4 separate regions of the Homo sapiens genome follow, and regions 2, 3 and 4 are each linked to region 1. Evidence: promoter capture Hi-C in 16 types of primary human blood cells and fetal thymus (Javierre and others, 2016). All regions are on one chromosome and are shown on one strand. The core of a region is centred on a gene start or on the middle of the fragment in contact, and the rest is flanking DNA. Distances in the headings are between cores, read along the strand shown. Region 1 holds the start of CCN6 (cellular communication network factor 6). Region 2 overlaps SLC16A10 (solute carrier family 16 member 10). Region 3 overlaps SLC60A2 (solute carrier family 60 member 2). Region 4 has its middle 38 kb from the start of SLC60A2.

Region 1 (2,520 bases), core at 12-2,511:
TGTGTGATCTGCAGGTTTTAGGGTGTCCATGGTTCTCCAAGGACACCAGATTCTCTGTGGTGGAGGACAGCCTCGTTTTTCCCAGGCCCTCAGCTCAGGCCTAAGCGAGGCTTGATGTTGTCTTTATACAGTAGTGACTGCCTTGAACAGTAACAAAGGTGAGCAATCGGTATAGGATAGGTAAGGCAGCAGGAAAAGGAGGGATAGGTAACTGATCAAAGGAAATAGAAATAGGCCTTGGGATGGGGGCAGGCAGGTGGGACGCCTCAGGGACCTGAGAGGGACAAAGCACCACGGCAGCTGCAAATGAAGATGGGAACACAGACCCAGGCTGAGAACATGGAGAAGCGAAGGTCCCACATGATGACACAGGAGGAGATGCGCTGGTGGTCACACCTTTCAGGGAGGTGAGTATGAAGAAGAGGAGTACAAACCTGTCAAAATTTTATTTTTAATCTTTTTTTTTTTTTTGAGAATAATTCTCACTCTTGTCCCCCAGGCTGGAGTGCAATGGTGCGATCTCGGCTCACTGCAACCTCCGCCTCCCAGGTTCAAGCGATTCTCCTGCCTCAGCCTCCCAAGCAGCTGGGATTACAGGCGCCTGCCACCACACCTGGCTAATTTTTGTGTCTTTTTTTTTTTTTAGCAGAGACGGGATTTCATCATATTGGCCAGGCTTATTTTTAATCTTAATTCATTAAATGAATGATTGCTACCAGTGTAATTGTTTTATTTTAGGCCCGGAAAAATGGAGGTTAACTTCATTGTCATCTGTCATGGAACTGTGGCCACAAAAAGAGGCGTCTCTCAGGCCAGGTACTGTAGGAGTCCGCCCCCTGCTCCATCTGTATTTTTTCCACTCACAGTCCACCTGGCATGAGAAAGGTGTTGGGATAAAGGTGAGCCCAGGGCACTGTGGGTGCCTCCGAGAGAATCTGAGCTGGGGGAGTCAGGGTCCTTCGAGAGCCTGCCATTAATATGGAGGGGGAAAGCCAGGGCTAGGCTGCGATGGGTGCTGTTGGTGGGGGGGCCAGGCCTGCACTCTGTACGTGAGGGTGAAGCTGGAGAAGGAAGCAGCCTAGAGAGGACCCGGAGCAGGGCAAACACAGATGGAGAAGCTGAGGGCAAGGAAGGGAATGACGTGGGACCCCACCCGTTGTCGGGGGCAGGCTCTGCTCTCCAGGAACAGGTAACACAGTCACTTAGAGAACAGTCACTACTTGCCCTGCCCTCCTGAGTCCCGGGAGGAAAGTGCTCGCCCATTCCTGACCTGTGACACGCTCACTGCGAAGGCAGGTTATTAGAAGAGTCCCATGAAAGTAAACAGGGTATTAAAACGGATCCTTAAAAATGAAAGTGCAGGCTGAAAGTTGGTAGTGTGGGAGGTAGAGGGTGTGTGTTCTTGTGCAGAGGAGCGTGGGGTTTGCAGAGGAGACAGGGGAGCTTTGTGTACCCGGAGCAATGAACAAGCGGCGACTTCTCTACCCCTCAGGGTGGCTCCACGGTCCCAGCGACATGCAGGGGCTCCTCTTCTCCACTCTTCTGCTTGCTGGCCTGGCACAGGTAAGTCCTCTCCCCCGACTCTTTCCCTTCCGGAGGCTATGGCCATCCTTAGTTCTTCAGGCCCAAAACTAAACAAAACGAAGATGGAGGAAGAGGGAGGATCAATGGCTTGTGGAACTACTTCATGAGAAATAGGAAGCCATTTTTCTTTCCAAATAAAGTTCTGTGTTCGTTCATGAGCTTCATGAAAGAAATGTAAAACATTTCTCCCTTTCAGGTAATGGCACCGAAGCCTCCTTTCGCTATGTTTGAACAGCGCCACGCTTTCCTATATATTTTTATAGCAGAGCCTAAGGCACAGCCTGGCACAGTGCGGGAAACAGTGTCTCTCCATGCCAGCTCCAGGCGGAGGCTCAACTTTCCATTGCTGTTTGCAAAATGTGCAAAGAGCCCCTGGAAAAACGAATTTTGACAGCGACTTTTTCCAGTTAAGTCTGTCCTTCTTTGAAAGGGGCACTTTGGAATAAACATTTACATTTTTAAAACATTCTCTTACTTTGTCTTTTCTCAGTCCATGTGTTTCTCACTTCCTGAAAGGGAAGCAGTCCATGGAGGCTTGGAAATATTTCAAGCAACAGACCAAAGGGAAGTTTAACTTACTATGAGCAATTCATTGCCTTAGTCTTTTTAAATAAGAAGATGAAAACAAGGTGACTTAATTGTTGATTTATTTACACGGTAGACAGGAGACAGAGCTTTTGAAATCTGGTGATTTAGGAAACATGGGTGTGTCTGTGAGTTAGTAGTTGATTGGGGCCATAAGTAGTAGATACATCTTAGAAAACAAGGAATTGCAAATTGTTATACCATATAGAGAGAGATTTACGATTTCAAAAGAATCATGACAAGAATGTCAGTGGTCCAGGTCATTGCTGCTGTTCTGTGGAGGGGCTCACTCCCCTGTCTGTGTGCCTCCTATTCCACTGTTCTTGAGAAAAAGCCTGTCATTGTGGATTG
Region 2 (2,520 bases), core at 12-2,511, 820 kb before region 1:
AAGAAATTCAGAATCTAGATACACTTAGATTCTAAATTAGACACACTCAGATTCTAATGAACACTTAGAATGCTTCGCCAGTGGCTTTTCAAGTTACACTGGAAGCTTGATTATGAAAAAGTTTTGTTTTCATTGGCAAGAGGGTAGATGATCAGTGATGACAGATTGTACAGCTGTGCCCAAACCTGACAACTTACACATTAAACTCCTGTAAGAGACACTCCTTCCTAGTAGAACAAGGACTGGGACAATGAATTTTTGACTCACTGGAGTTTTTTAAAATGCTGTTCTTGAGTGTGGCAATAGTGTAGGAGTTAACCCAGTCTACCCAAAGAAGTTGCTTTGCCTTTCAATATGAGTGCTATAAAAAGAGTATTTTGGAGTTCAATGTCCCTAAACATGTATGCGATAGGAACTACCAATATAAAATAACACTTAGAACTCAAATTAGATTGGTAATACTATTTTGGAGCCTGTGATGTATGACTTTTATTCTTTACTAGATATTTTTCAGTATCCGTCATTAGAAGAGTCAGTTTGTTAAATATTTTAAATGTGTAAACACAAAACCTTTCTACTGTGATCTTCCCTAATGAGTCAAAGTATCTTTCATAATTCAGTCTATATTGAAATGTTATTTCAGGAATGGAGGGTTTGTTATTAATAGTGCTGGGCCGGGCACGGTGACTCATGCCTGTAATCCCAGCACTTTGGGAGGCCGAGACAGGCGAATCACCTGAGGTCAGATGTTGGAGACCAGCCTGACCAACATGGAGAAACCCCATCTCTACCAAAAATACAAAATTAGCCGGGCGTGGTGGCTCCATGCTGTAATCCCAGCTACTCGGGAGGCTGAGGCAGGAGAATTGCTTGAACCCAGGAGGTGGAGGTTGCAGTGAGCCAAGATTGCACCATAGCACTCCAGCCTGGGCAACAAGAGCAAAACTCTGTCTCAAAAAAAAAAAAAAAAAAAATAGTGCTGCATTTTGACCCTGGACTATGAACAGACTGTATAGTTGGTGCCTCTTTTTTTTCTACCAAAGATTATTAGATCAAGATTGGTGCTATACTTCATGTTCCTTTCAAAATTATTTTTCTTTTAAAAATATTAATATACAACACAATAGAAAATGTATACAGCCAGCAACGTTATGCATGTTGCATGTTATATACATGACTGAGGAAAAAAGCTCACCTATACAGTGATTATTGAGTTCCAGTATCTAGTTAGAGGTATGCAATTTTTGTTAACATATAAGACTTTAAATTACGAAACTCACAAGAAAATGATCACCAAATGAGAATGTTCTAATGAACACAACCTCCCAAGGTAATAATTTTAAAGAAAAAGTCCCTTGTCAATGTTTCTAGCACAAAGTGAGGGATTTAAATATATTCTGTAACTTTGAGGCAATGTGAAAAAGTTATATATAATAGCTTCCTATTGAGCTGGCTTATGTAGACATTTGGACATTTGAAACTATTTCGCAACTTTCAGGCTAAAATCAGAGTTTTGAGAGTCATCAATCTTAAAACATGGATAATGAGTTATTTGCACAGTTATATTTTTATAATTATTTGAAATTTATCACTGAAAGTATCATTGTTTGTCTTTCAGATTTAACATAAACAATAAGTACTGCGGCTGGGTCACTGTCAGCAAATCTCAGGTCTATGATTTATCAAGGGCTCTCAGCACCATCGTTGGTCTGATTGTGTAACACCTAAGTAAAATAACATATGGGTCTCCTTGGCCAGGCGCCGTGGCTCACACCTGTAATCCCAGCACTTTGGGAGGCCAAGGCAGGCGGATTGCTTGAGGCCAGGAGTTCGAGACATACGGGTCTCTTTAATGTTCTGTAGGTAGGATTCAGATGAATTGAGAATGACAGGTTTCTTTTTCTTTCTTTGTTTCTTTTTTTTTTTTTTTTTTGAGATGGAGTCTTGCTCTATTGCCAGGCTCCATATAGTGGCGCGATCTCAGCTCACTGCAACCTCCGCCTCCCGGGCTCAAGTGATTCTCGTGCCTCAGTCTTCTGAGTAGCTGGGACTACAGGTGCCCACTACCACACCGGCTAATTTTTGTATTTTTGGTAGAGATGGAGTTTCACCATGTTGGCCAGACTGGCCTTAAGTGATCCACCTGCCTCAGCCTCCCCAAGTGCTGGAATTACAGGCATGAGCCACCATGCCCGGCTAGAGAATGACAGGTTTCAGTTGAATTCTTCTCTTTTAAAAGACCCTGACTTAACTGTATTTTATGAGGATTTTATAAATGTAAATTAAGAAGACAATACACACTCTCATTTTCCTAATTAGAAAGACTATGCATTCACAATCCAGTACACTGGATTTGCTCTGGTAACTAATGATAACACTTTTCTACGTTAACATGAGTTATATTTGGCAGAGAGAATGGAAGCTTGCTAATCAGAAGTTACATTAGGGTGAGATTAAACATCACTCTAATAATAACTTCTGATGTAACTTAATGTGGTTTGAGATGTGTAAGATTGTAGA
Region 3 (2,520 bases), core at 8-2,507, 780 kb before region 1:
ATACGCTGCTGTGAATGTGGGTGTACAACTGTGTCTTTGAGATCTTGTTTTCAGTTCTTTTGAGATATATACCCATAAGTGGAATTGCTGGATCTTATGGTAATTCTATTTTTAATATTTTGTTGTGTTTGTGTTTTTTGTCTTAGATTTTTTTCTTAATCAAGTTTTTCCAGAAGAGAGTAGCTTTAGGAAGAGAATAAACACATACTTTTAAGGTATTATCTCAGACTTTAGGCGCATTATGATCATATCAGTAGCACCCATGTACTGAATAAGTGAACTCAAAGAAAAGTTATGTTGGGCAACTACCTCAAAGTTTTGTTATCTCTGCTTGCAATTTTTGTTCAGTCATTGCACAAGTGCTTGAGGGCTTACTGCATGTGAGGCTCTGTAGACTAAGTATTAATGAACTTTCTTTTTTGTCCTTGCAGTAGCAGGTACAGCTTTGATCTCAGTTTTCTGCCAAATGAATGGTTCTGTGTTTTGTGCTCATTCGTTTACAGAGATCCCTCTGAACCACCTTGGAACCAGAAGGTGTGTGGTCTGAGAACGATAAATGGGCTGCTCTCTGCCTCTCTCACAGCAGTTCTGCCCCTCCTTGGGACCACTCGTTTTCTGCATTCCTGGCCCATCTTCTATATATCTCTGGTCCAGATTCCAGAGGAAACCTGTTTGACTTGAATAGATGCCATTGCCCTTATTGGGCCTTGCCTCAGGAGTTCCTCTGTGTATCTCTGGTCCAGATTCCGGAGGAAACCTGTTTGACTTGAGTAGATGCCATTGCCCTTATTGGGCCTTGCCTCAGGAGTTGCTGGTTAGCCTATGAAGGGGTTCCCTTTGGGTTGATGACATTGCTCCCATCCAGAAAGTGGCTACTTCTACCCTCCTACTCCCACCACTCTGCATGCAGGAGCTGTTATCATCAAAAGGGAATGTCCACTGTCTGCTCTGTACCAGAGAAGTGCTAGGCTTCATAAATATTGGTAATCGATACCTGAATGGGATGAAAATTGGCAGGTCCTGGGATGGATGGCCTGGTTCATCTGCATCAGAACTGGAAAAACAAAATCACACCAAATTGCAGACTTTTTTGGAAGAGCGTGTTAGACAAGGTTTGTGGATTGTTTGATTTTTACCAAGAAAGAAAGCTTTCTCCTAAGAGGGTAAGATTTCTACTTGAGTGAGCTCTAAGAGGAGTCCCAGTTTGCAAGAGATATTATTACAGTTCTCATCTGTGCGGACCAGAAAGTTTTCCAAATTCATGCATTTCAGTTATCTAACAGATATTTACTGAGCATTTACCATGTTCAGTAACCAGGGCCCTGGGAATATAATAGGAGAAGGCAGATGAGATCCTTGCCTTCACCAAGCTTATGTTTTTCTATTTTAAGTAAAATTTGCCATGACAAAATTTCTATCAGCGGAAGAGCCAGTAACTCTTATTGTAATAGGTTTTACCCAGTTTTAGAAAAGGAAAGTAGCTAAACTCTTGGTTCCTTGGTGTGTGTTTTTGTTTGTTCATTTCTAGTACTTGTCTATGTCTTTGGGGTAATTTTTGATTTAGAATTTTGTAGAAATTACTCGGCACAGTGTAGTTGAGGTGAATATAGGCAAGAAGGCTTAGGAAGCCTACAACAAAGGAATCTGACACCAACTTTTGAGATTTATTCAGTCCAGCCAAGAGAATATATTTATGGTCAAACTAGATCTTGGATTACAGCTCCAAAGACCCTTGGGCTGACAGAGCAGGTTCTCATTTCTCAGCTCTTTCCCTTATCACTTGCAGTGAACTCTGCCCCCAGGAGCAGAGTATCCAGTTCTGTGTCCAAGCACTCTATGAATCTTTACCCTTGTTGAAGAAATACTCAGAGACAGAAGCATTTAGAAAAGGAAAAGTTTACCTGCAAAGAGAGCAAGAGAATGACTGGCTTGCCTAATAAAAAACGTAAGTATTTGAAGGAAAAAATTAAAAACTGCCAAGGTTTCTGAGTTTGCATTAGACTGTTCACGGTGAAAAACAGTAACTGCCTCATGTAATTATTGTATTCATAAAGGTTATGGCAAATCTTCAGATGTAGTACAGGAAAAACCAAGGATAAAATTTCTTAGGGAGTCCAGGTTTATGGGAAACATTCAAGGTTTTATTGTTTTTTAGATCATCAACAGTTAGATGACCCTATCATTTTTGTTTTGTCTCAGGGTGCAACGTCTTTCTTTTCTGATGGTGATTGATATAGTTTGGCTGTGTCCCCACCCAAATCTCATCTTGAATTCCCATGTGTTGTTGGAGGGACCTGGTGGGAGGTAACTAAATCATGGGGGCAAGTCTTTCCCGTGCTGTTCTTGTGATAGTGAGGAAGTCTCACGAGATCTTTTGGTTATTATAAGAGGGAGTTTTCCTGCACAAGCCCTCATTTTGCCTGCTGCCATCTATATAAGATGTGATTTGCTGCTCCTTGCCTTCCGCCATGATTGTGAAGCCTCCCCAGCCATGTGGAACTGTAAGTCCAATAAACCTCT
Region 4 (2,520 bases), core at 11-2,510, 760 kb before region 1:
AAGTAGACAGAGAAGTAGATTAGGTGGTGCATGTGTTTTGATTTCCTCCTTGGATTTCAAGTATAGACATAATCTGTGACTATTTGCCTGTGCAAAGCTAGTTATTAAGCAGAACTGGGGCATTAATGTTTCTGAATTTTATCCACTATTATACAACTCAAATGGGCTGGGCATGGCGGCTCATGCCTGTAATCCCAGCACTTTGGGAGGCCAAGATGGTGGGTCACCTGACATCAGGAGTTCAAGACCAGCCTGGCCAACATGGAGAAACCCCATCTTTACTGAAAATACAAAAATTAGCCGGGCATGGTGGTGCATGCCTGTAATCCCAGCTACTCAGGTTGCTGAGGCAGGAGAATCGCTTGAGGCAGGAGGCAGAGGTTGCAGTGAGCCGAGATCATGCCACTGCACTCCAGCCTCGGTGACAGAGCAAGACCCTGTCTGAAACAAAACAAAACCTCAAATGGTTAAAGGTAACAATTCTCATCACATCATGGGAAAAGGGCACATGGTATTATGGGATTAAAAATCAGTAGGGTGTGAATGCCAACCATCCTCCCAGAGGTACAGAGTTCACTAATAGAGGTCTGGCATATCCAGCCTAAAAGTAGCTACTTGTGCATTGCCATCTCCCCCAACCTCCACAGCTGATGGCAGAGCCCTAACAATGTCATTTATAGCCAGATTTATTTTTACTTTATAAAATTAAATGTGACTATTTTAAGAAATACTAGTCTACAATAGAGAAGTCAATTTAAAAGCTTATTTGGGCTGGGCGTGGTGGCTCCCAGTAGCCTGTAATCCCAGTACTTTGGGAGCCTGAGGTAGCCAGATCGTTGAGTTCAGGAGTTCGAGACCAGCCTGGCCAACAGGGCGAGACCCCATCTCAACCAAAAATACAAAAATTAGCCAAGCGTGGTGGTGTATGCCTGTAGCCCCAGCTACTTGGGAGGCTGAAGTGAGAGGACTGCTTGAACTCGGGGTGGAGGTTGCAGTGAGCCAAGATCGCCCCACTGCACTCCAGCCTGGGCAACAATGCAAGACCCCTCAAGACAAAACAAGCTTATTTGATGGGCCTTAAGGAATATTCCTGTACTCCAACTGTTATGAAAATAAAAGAGAGTAGATGAAAAGATCGACTACACAGCTACAAGACTTAACTAATGTAAGATCCGGAAAAGATGTTTAGGTGATCAGGGTGGCACACTTGATGGCAGGTAGGGTGCATCATCTGAGACTGAGGGTATAACCCATGACAGTCAGTGGGGTTGAACGGAGTCCACAAGCTCTCTGGGTGGCCTGCTCCATTGGCAAGATGAGGGCCACCTCCTCTAAGAATTCTTCATATCTTTAAAACTGCTCTTCACATTTTTATGTTTTTTCCAAATTTATTGTCCTTCCTCAAAGACACTATGTTGTGTCCATATAGAATTGATTATTACATGATTCATCTAGGGAAAAGCTTGAGTAGAAAGTGAGAAAAATGAGAGAAAACAATGTTAAACAACTTTAACAAATATTAATGTTTCACTTAATTCATTAAACATTAAGGAAATGTTTAATGAAGTTATTTGATGTCTCTGAGCTTCTGGCTCCTTTTCAGGTAAATGAAAACATCCTAAAGAATGAAACTGTTTCTTCAGCCATACTTAAATTTTTTTTTTCTGTGATCTGAGAGACAAAACTTTATTAATAGCCAATCATCTAAAAAGGAGGGAAAATTATGGAACACAGGAAGATCCTTACAAGAAAATTTCTTGGTAAAATAGTTCCAAATTTCAGCACCCTCCCCGATGAGTTAGTGAAACAGCAAATGGACCTCACTAAAAGGCAGTTAAGCTACAGACTCTGAGGACAGTTACAAAGGAGGAGCTTTCCTGCAGAAAACAGAACCAGAGACAGGCTGAGTGTGAGCTAGTTTTAGGCATTCATGTTGAATAACCATTTGTTAATATGGCTGTATCCAATTATAATCAATCAATCAGGTTAAAAATGGTTATTGTGTTGAAAATATTGTGTCAAGTTACTATGATGAGAAAGAGATGATGTGTGTGGAAGTCCTGACAGCACAGAACTTGTAAGTAACAGAATTTCATCAATCTACACATATAAAAGGGGGAAAAAACCCCAATGCTGAGGACTAGCCCCAGCCTCCCAAACAAAAAAAAATCCCCAGAAGTGGAAATTCATTATGTCTTAACAAGACTTGAAATAAATTATGTTCAGACACAGGCTATGTATCTCTTTGGTTCCATATTTACCATGTAATTTTCAGAAAAAGAATCCTCCCAACATTTGCAAGTACATATTCTGGCAATGGAAGACCTATTTCTGTTAAATAACCAGGTGAGTTATTTCTGTTAAAATAATAACTAACTTTTTTCTATTGAAAAAAATAGGCATATAAAAATTGGCATTTAAGTTTTTAAGAAGTAATGTAGTTTTTGCTTTCTCTGTAATTTAATTAATAATTATATCAAAATGAAAATGAACACTGAAGATCTACTAACAAACAAGTAC

Evidence for each region. Contacts are between HindIII fragments. The CHiCAGO score rates a contact against its expected background, and 5 or more counts as called.
Region 2: a fragment that was not itself captured here is called in contact with the fragment with the promoter of CCN6 in region 1 in 3 of 17 cell types (total CD8 T cells, naive CD8 T cells and naive CD4 T cells); the score reaches 6.1 in total CD8 T cells.
Region 3: a contact is called between a fragment that was not itself captured here and the fragment with the promoter of CCN6 in region 1, in 3 of 17 cell types (activated CD4 T cells, non-activated CD4 T cells and total CD4 T cells). The highest score is 5.9, in activated CD4 T cells.
Region 4: a fragment that was not itself captured here is called in contact with the fragment with the promoter of CCN6 in region 1 in 1 of 17 cell types (activated CD4 T cells); the score reaches 6.0 in activated CD4 T cells.

Annotation. Positions count from the first base shown.
Region 1 is chr6:112,052,843-112,055,362 of GRCh38, forward strand. It overlaps CCN6 (cellular communication network factor 6), which reads left to right and starts at 1,262. Exons shown (of 5, transcript NM_198239.2): 1 at 1,262-1,563. The coding sequence starts at 1,516. The HindIII fragment of the contact is 6,629 bases long and covers 1-2,520 here.
Region 2 is chr6:111,228,076-111,230,595 of GRCh38, forward strand. It overlaps SLC16A10 (solute carrier family 16 member 10), which reads left to right. Exons shown (of 6, transcript NM_018593.5): 6 at 1-2,520. All of the region lies in intron 2 of SLC60A2-DT (SLC60A2 divergent transcript), which reads right to left. Among named protein-coding and RNA genes, the nearest start is that of SLC60A2-DT, 30 kb to the right of the region's middle. The HindIII fragment of the contact is 2,317 bases long and covers 104-2,420 here.
Region 3 is chr6:111,276,214-111,278,733 of GRCh38, forward strand. It overlaps SLC60A2 (solute carrier family 60 member 2), which reads left to right. Exons shown (of 4, transcript NM_153369.4): 4 at 1-2,520. Among named protein-coding and RNA genes, the nearest start is that of SLC60A2, 18 kb to the left of the region's middle. RefSeq lists an enhancer at 1,713-1,882. The HindIII fragment of the contact is 222 bases long and covers 1,147-1,368 here.
Region 4 is chr6:111,296,280-111,298,799 of GRCh38, forward strand. No RefSeq gene overlaps it. Among named protein-coding and RNA genes, the nearest start is that of SLC60A2, 38 kb to the left of the region's middle. The HindIII fragment of the contact is 400 bases long and covers 1,061-1,460 here.